3 separate regions of the Homo sapiens genome follow, and regions 1 and 3 are each linked to region 2. The links are contacts of gene promoters, found by promoter capture Hi-C in blood cells and fetal thymus (Javierre and others, 2016). All regions are on one chromosome and are shown on one strand. The core of a region is centred on a gene start or on the middle of the fragment in contact, and the rest is flanking DNA. Distances in the headings are between cores, read along the strand shown.

Evidence for each region. Contacts are between HindIII fragments. The CHiCAGO score rates a contact against its expected background, and 5 or more counts as called.
Region 1: a fragment that was not itself captured here is called in contact with the fragment with the promoter of OR52B2 in region 2 in 4 of 17 cell types (M1 macrophages, M0 macrophages, M2 macrophages and 1 more); the score reaches 8.5 in M1 macrophages.
Region 3: a fragment that was not itself captured here is called in contact with the fragment with the promoter of OR52B2 in region 2 in 1 of 17 cell types (monocytes); the score reaches 5.6 in monocytes.

The regions. Positions count from the first base shown.
Region 1 is chr11:6,029,052-6,031,751 of GRCh38, forward strand. OR56A1 (olfactory receptor family 56 subfamily A member 1) reads right to left here and starts at 1,707. Exons shown (of 2, transcript NM_001388488.1): 1 at 1,651-1,707. All of the region lies in intron 1 of LOC107984303 (a long non-coding RNA gene), which reads left to right. The HindIII fragment of the contact is 1,300 bases long and covers 690-1,989 here.
Region 2 is chr11:6,169,026-6,171,725 of GRCh38, forward strand. OR52B2 (olfactory receptor family 52 subfamily B member 2) reads right to left here and starts at 1,301. Exons shown (of 1, transcript NM_001004052.1): 1 at 330-1,301. The coding sequence starts at 1,301. The coding sequence ends at 330. The HindIII fragment of the contact is 5,039 bases long and covers 839-2,700 here.
Region 3 is chr11:6,303,762-6,306,461 of GRCh38, forward strand. No RefSeq gene overlaps it. Among named protein-coding and RNA genes, the nearest start is that of CAVIN3, 15 kb to the right of the region's middle. RefSeq lists an enhancer at 1-498. The HindIII fragment of the contact is 1,561 bases long and covers 663-2,223 here.

The sequences.
Region 1 (2,700 bases), core at 90-2,589, 140 kb before region 2:
ATGTTCTCACTCATAAGTATGTGTTCAAAATGTGTACATATAGATGTAGAGAGTGAAATGATTGACAATGGAGACTCAGAAGGGTGAGGCGGGTGAGAGGGGGTGGATAATGAGAAATTACTTAATGAGAATAATGTACATCATTCAGGTGATGGATACCCTAAAAGCCCTGACTTAACTACTATACAATCTATGCATGGAACAAAATTGCACTTTGATCCTATAAATTTATATAAAATTTTGTAAGACTTATAAATAATGTGTATATACTCTCATCCTTTTCTTGTTTCCTTTCATTAAAATAAATAATCTGTCCATCTTCAAGAATTGATCCCATCTCTCCCAGCTTTGAATTCTGGCTCTTTCTCTAACTCTCCCCTTCCCTTCATGCACAAACCTCTCACAAGCATTTACACTCACTGTCTCCATTCCCTCACCTTACATCCATTCCACAACTCACTTCAATTTGGCTTCCATCTCCATTAGTTCCACAAAATAGCTCTCAGAAATCACCTACAGCTTCCCTATTGTTAAATCTTGTTGAAACAGTTGATCAAATCCTCTTCCTTGAAACACTCTCTTTGGCCTAATTCATATATCACAGACTTCTAGTTTACCTTGTACCTCCTGGTCACTCCCTCTCATTTTCTCGAACACATCCATCATCCACTACCTTGACGTCAGTTTAAAGCTTCAGTCCTACATTTTCTTCGCTTTTCTTCTTTCCTCTCTGATATTCTGTTTTCCCTTCTTCCACTTCTTTTATCTTGTCTATGTCATTAGACAATTACCATCTCTATTACTAAATTACTGAATTATGTTTCTTACTTAGACCTCTCCAGAAGCCTACTTTATGTATCAACCTGGGTTTCCCAAAGATATTCAAAGCTCACCAAGTCCAAAATTTAAAAACCTGGTCTTTTGCCAGCATCTCAGTGACTGGTGTAAATATTTGTCAGTTTTAGAAGCCAGCGCCCAGAAAATGTCTTGAACATTTATTCTACCCATTGAAAATGATACGAAGTACATGATGAAACCACTAAGACATGTCATTTTCCCTTTTAATTAGCCCTGGAATCCATCCACTTCTCCATATCCACTCTCACCATCCAAGTACTATTACCTCGAGTAAAAAGTAAATATTGCCTCCTAATGCAGTCTAGGTTTCTTTATAAACCATTCTCTACATTGAAATCAAGGAAATGTTTTTAAATATAAATATTACCAGTCATCTGATTAAAATATTTCAGTGGCTTCTCATTGCTAATATTATAAAAAGGAAATTTTTTACTTGAACTTCATGAGACCATAAGTTCATGAGGGAAGAAACCATGTGTGGTTTTTCTTTTATCATCACTATATAAACAGGGTATAGATAGATTGCTAGGTACACATAGTTAACTGACTACATTATGAAAGGAAGGAAGGAAGGAAAAGGAAGGAGGAAGGGAGGGAGGGGAGGAAGGAAAGCAGGCAATGCCATATATTATCTACCTCCTTCCTCATTTTCCAGTTCCATCTAACACCCCATCTCCCTTGCTCCCTGAGCTTCAGCCACACCGTCCTTTCAGATCTTCGAACGTTACATGAGCTTTCTGATCCCACTTCTCTTGGAAGGCTGTGCATCTTATGCTTCTACACAACACTTACTTTCTCCTCATCCTTTACATCTCAATTCAAATACTCTCTTCTCTGAGAGGTTTGTTCTAACCCCCTTTACACAAGATCAAGTCCTCCTATTTTATGTTTCTGTAGTACTTTGAACCATCCTCATCATCTGTAGTTATACATTTATATGATAAGTTGCTTACATACTCCTTCTTCCAATGCCCAATTAGACATTTCATGCCATGAAAATAACATCAATTAGCCCAGTGCTTGACATGAAATGGCTAAAAATATTTGTAGAGTGAGTTAATTAGACATATGAGCAGAATAATAGGAAGGCACAAAGGAAAATTTCTGAACTCAACCCTAGAGGAAAAGAGAAGCTTTCCTAAAGCTGCTAACAACTTAGCTGAGTTTTATTTCAATAGATGTGGAGGATTTACATGCATTAAATCTGTGTAGTGTATTGAAGATATAAAAAATGGATTATGTGAAAGCATGGAGATGAGTCTGAGAATAACTTTGGAAGGAAATTCTATGCAATATTTAATCTGACTGGAGCCAAAAGGATGAGGAGTTGAAAGAAAGAGCCAAAAATGGAGTTGATAAAAGAAAAAGCCAGATCTTAAGTACATTTTCTATGCTGAAGATTTTAGAACTAGTCATATGGATGAAAAGAAATGGAAAAAAATATTTCCATTAGAAGAGAGACATGACCAGATTTAGGGTACGTACAGAAAGATCACTCTGGACACATTATTATGCATGAACTTGGGTAAGGCAAGAGAGCAGAAATAGAAAGAATGGCGGCCGCAATAGCCAAGGTGAGAAGTGACGTGCAACTGAACAAAGGCTGAGGCACTGAGGATGGGAAGAAGGTGAATCTTCCAGAAGTCATATAGACAGAACTTATTGACAGATTTGTTTTAAAGGAGAAAATAGGTGAGAAGCCCAGAGTGACCCCCGGTTTACTAGCTTGAGTAAATAAGTTGCATCACCAAGATGTAAAATACAGCTAAATGAGTAAGATTAGTGTGTACTGGGATATGTCAAGAACGAGGTGTTTATAATCGCCACACATAGATTTGTTTT
Region 2 (2,700 bases), core at 51-2,550:
GTAAATATAAAATTATTTTTATCCACTTCTTTATAACCTCATTTCATGTGGTGTTCAGATCCCTGCGCTTCTGGCGTCTATCTAGTCTACTGAGGGTACCAAAGCCTCATATCAGAGGCATGTACACTTAGTTATTATTTCTGGGTTGTAGGGAGGAATATGTAAAGAGGTTAGAGAAAACAAACAAGAGAAGGAGGAAGAATTATGAGAAAAGAAAGAAAAGTTGGGGGCGGAAGATGAAATAGAAAGAAGAGGAAGAAAAGCCTTCTCAGTCCAGGAAATCTCTGTATTTCACATCTAGCTTCCTTGAAGGAGCTGGACATGAAGATTCATGAGCCCAGAGGGGAGGTACAGCACCAAGTCTTGATGTCAAAGAACCGGTGGGCTACACCCTCACGTATCTGCTTAGTCTTCACACCATAGACAATGGGGTTCAGCATTGGTGGCACTGCCACATAAAGATTGGCCAGCAAGATATGGACATGTTGAGGAATATTACGCCCAAAATGATGGGTCAATAAGGTAAAGAAGGATGGAACATAAAACATAAGGATGACACAGAGGTGGGAGCCACAAGTGCTGAGGGCCTTGTGCCGAGCATCCTGGGAGGGCAAACGAAACACTGCTCGGAGGATCAGTGAGTAAGACACAGCGATGAGGATAACATCCAAGATGACCATGACAATGGGCACTGAGAAGCCATACCAAATGTTAACAGTGATGTCAGCACAGGCTAAACGAGCCACTCCAATATGCTCACAGTAGGAGTGAGGAACAATGTTGGTTAGGCAGAAGGGCAGCCGCTTCAGCAAGAATATGACTGGGAAGATGATGCAGAAGCTTCGGGTGATGACGGCCAGAGCAATCCTCCCCACAACAGGCCATGTTAGCACTGTTGTATATCTCAGTGGGGCACAAATGGCCACAAAGCGATCAAAGGCCATGGCTAACAGGATAGCTGACTCCCCCACAAACATCATATGGACAAAGAAGCCTTGGGTGACACAGGCATCAAAAGCAATGTTATGTGCTTGAAGCCAAAAGATGGCTAGGGCCTTGGGCACAGTGGTGGTAGACAGCAGGATGTCCATGACGGCCAGCATTGAGAGGAAGAAATACATGGGCACATGAAGGTTACGTTCCATGACAATAACCACTATCAGGATGCTGTTTCCCAGGACTGCAGTGATGTAAATGAGGCAAAGAGGTATTGACAGCCAAATGTGATAAGCCTCCAACCCAGGGATGCCAGGAAGGACAAAAACTGCAGGATGGAAGATGGTAACATTGGTGTGACTCATGATGCACTTTATGGTCCTCTCTATAATGACTTAGAAGCTGATGAGTCTACTGAAAGTGATAGAAACAGAAAGCACTCCCGAATATGTATAAATATCATAAAAGACAGCATGGATTTCTAAATTGCTGGACTCTCCAGCAGCAAGTACTCCCAGAGAATGTTCACTTGGTATAGGAATGGCTTCTGGCCCATAGTGCTTCCTTTGCAGATAGAGCTTCTGTGGCAATAATGCTTCAAGTATGAACAGAAGTGGCAGCACCTTCCTGCAACCACCCTGCCCCCAGAGTTTGGCCTCACTCTCCCTTTCTGACCTCATTCTACTATTTCCACACAAGCAGCATTTTCCACCTACCTGTGTTGTACTTGTCCCTTTCCCCAAGATTTTGTTCTGCATTTACCTTTAATTTCCCTCCCCTTCTACTTCTGTTTAACAAAATTTTAACCTTAAAATAAGTCCTCAAGACATACCACTTTGTAATGGTCTGTGTTCATAGCAATATATCTCCTTCCTAAAAAACTATTAACTAAACTATATTTTAACTGGGTTATATTTAATCCTATTAAGTTTATCTGGCTATTGCCTTGAACATTTCACAGGACACTTGCACCTCTGGCCCCTTGTGCAAGGGAGTAGAGTATCAAGTGGGAATCCAGAGGAAGCCTAGAGGGGTACATTTCTCCACTCTGATCCAGATTCATATCTTCCCTAATGCAGTGAGCAATGGGGCAGCCAATGAAACTGAGACAGGCAATTTTCATCACCAGCTCCTCATGGACTTCTCATGCTCCTCCTCAAATATTTCTATACAGGAGCCTCTTGGTTATGTCTGGGCTTCCTTATCTGTAGAAGCCCCCCAGGAAAACGATTCTGAGCAAAAGAAATCAATCTATTGCCCACCTGTAAACTCTGCTGACTCCACTAATACTGCCCTTCTTCCCACCCCACTGTTCCCCAACGCTCAGAAGGAACCATGTTTCCCTGCTGCCAAGAAGGATTAAGTATAGAGCCCTTCTTGGCTTGCCTGCCACTCAGGTAATATTTGTTTCATTCTGAAGTTCTGAACTATCTGTCAGCTATTAGGACTAGGGAAAGAGTGTATGATTAAGAATCTAGAAGGGAACATGAAGAAAAGGGACCACAGAGACAGTAAAGAGAGAATCAGAACTATAAAGGTACCAAATAAACACTAGACTGATCTTCTGATAATGGTATTCAGAGGGCCCCAAAGAAGAGATGCAAAGGAATCAAATCCTCAGTTTATTAGTCCATCCCTCTGCCTCTATGCAAATGAACTTTCTCAGAGCACAGTGGGCTGTGGGGAGGGAGCAATGGGACTCCAGATGGGTACAAGGAAGGGAATAGAGCCAGATCCAGACAAGTAAAGGCCGCAGGCAGGCTA
Region 3 (2,700 bases), core at 193-2,692, 130 kb after region 2:
ACCAAACCAGGCACTATGGACAGTGACTTGGCTGTACAGGTGCCCTTTGCATAACAATGATGTTCGTGAGAGGCATGACTCTTAAGCCGACATGAGTCTCTGTGACTTTAAATCCTCCTTGTTCCTTTCAGACAAACTGCTGACAAGCCTGGTCAGCATGCACTGACCTGAATGCCCTTTTCTACATCATTAAACCCCTTTTTAACTTCCCGCTGTGGGGATGATGTGTGTCTGCACCGGATCCACACTATGTTTCTTCCCCCTTTCTGTTTAATCACACCTAAATCAAAAGCAGAAAATCACAGTTAAAGCTAATTTGTATCATATTAAATATTAAAATCCATATTAAAATTAATGACATGGTGATATGGTGAGACCCCTTAATAACACTACCATGTGACAGTTTTCTATTTTCACTTACTATTGCTATTAACTTCGTGTTGGCATCAGTTGTTCTCTACAGGTGACAAGTGCATTTGATAGCAGCATATATATGTAAATAACTTACGAATGACAAAATTTTTATAATTTTTTTAAAAATACAAAATTAAACCCTCTAAAAAACTAATTTTTAAGATATCTCTGAAAAATACACAGATATATACGTACTCCTACCCTTTTGTGTCTTACCCTAAAAATTACTCTTTGCAAATAATCTTATAAGCTTTCACTCCCTTTTATTTTGCTTTGCTGGTGGCTCTGATGGTATATGTTCACTGGTGCCTTTTTGGGGGAACATTCCAGAACCCTGTTCTATTATACCACAGACACAGAAAGGTGTTCTGATAATGAGTACTAGTATTTTGGAAAATAAAACAAAAAACAAAATTTCACCACATCCTTGTGAGAATATTTCTACACATTCCTGGAGTTTGTCTGATGTGCTATCATTGGCAAGGTAGAAGGTCATCCTAAATTAACTTGGATCTTTTTCCATTATGGATCATATGCAGAAGCATGAATTGTAGAGTCTTCACAACAGAAATAGCTTGTTCTGTATTACAGGACTCCAGAGTGAGTGAGGGATTCATCCTGACTAACAATAAATATTGTTACATTAATGCTTCAGCACAGTCTCTTATATTGAGTACTGTAGAGAAAGAGGCATAGAATAAGTTTATTACTAACTAAGAAAAAAATAATAAACTCAACTTTCTCTTTACCAAACAATTTATCCGGAATTACAACCTGTATCATTGCAATGTTTTTATGAATTCTAGGCAATATCTTCTAACTTAAAAAATAAGTAAAACTAAAAAAAAAAAAAAAGAAAAAGAAGTGGTAAAACTTAAAGCTCCCCCATCTCACCCTTCATCACATACTAGCAGAATATCTTTCACCAATTCTTAACTATAGATACCCATGTAAGAAATAGTCTGTTTAATGGTCACATCAGGCATCAATCAAATGTTGAGGTTTACCAATCTTGGCAATATTGACATTTTGGATAGGCTAATTATTTGTTGTAAGGTACTATCATGTGCATTGTAAGACGTTTAACAACATCCCCGATGTCTGTCTACTAGGTGCCAGTTGTGACACTAAAAAGTGTCTCCAGACATTGGTAAATGTCCCCCCTGGGGTCGGTGGTGGAGGGTATGCCTGCAGTTGAGAACAACTGGTCTAGAGAAAAGAGGGTAATTGACCTAGTTTAGATGGAGTGCATAGTGCTGGGTCAGTTCGCTGTGAATCAGCGAGCAAGGATCAGTAAAGTACAGCATAATTCTATTTGAATATATGTGGCTGCTCCTTTAATCAGTGCTGAAAAGTCAATCTGCTAAGTGAGTGTTTACCACACTGCGGAGATTCCCTCTAGGGTTTGGCTTTTGTAGCTTTGCTCTTTGTTGAAGTTGTGCTATGATCTGAATGTTTGTGTCCCCCAAAAACTCATATGTTGAAATCTTAACAGACAAGGTGATGATATTACAAGGTGGCACCTTTGGGAGGTGATTAGAGATTAGATCATGAGAATTAAAGGGATTAATGTCCTTATAAGAAAGGCCTAAGAGAGAGTCCACAGCCCTTCTACCATGTGAAGACATAGAGAAAAAGCACCATCTGTGAACTAGAGAGCAGACCCTTACCAGATGCTGGATCTGCCAGCATCTTGATTTTGGACTTCCCAGTCTCCAGAAGTATGAGAAATAAATTTCCGTTGTTTATAAGCTACTCAGTTTATTGTATTTTCTTATAGTAACCACAACAGACTAAAACATGCTATTAAGCTTTTTAATTTATTATATTTATTTTTAATTTTTGCCTGTAGTTACTTCTTGTTTTTGAAGTTTTTCCCCTGTTTTAGGTATTTCTATTATCCTTACAGTTTTAGTATTCTGCCATCTTCAAGTAAGCTTTAAGTTGATTTTTGTTCAATGTGAGTTAGAATGTTGTTTTTTTCTATTTACTTTCCTCTCATTAGTATAACCTGAAATCTGCTAGGCAAAATGTGTGGGTTTTATTGTGTCTGTATTTCAGGAAGAAATAAAGGGTGGATGGTCATGTCCATATATTTGAGGCTCACTTGTTTATAAACCTTGGAAGTCGAGAGCCAAGTTAGCAGCTAGTTGAAAAGGATTAGAAGAACAAACCTCTCACTATCATAAAGTCCAATGTATTTAACAGTCTGGCTGGGTAATTAATGCTTAAACGTCAAAATGAGTCTGCTTGAAGTATTCTCTTAGATCCCCCAACCCACTGATT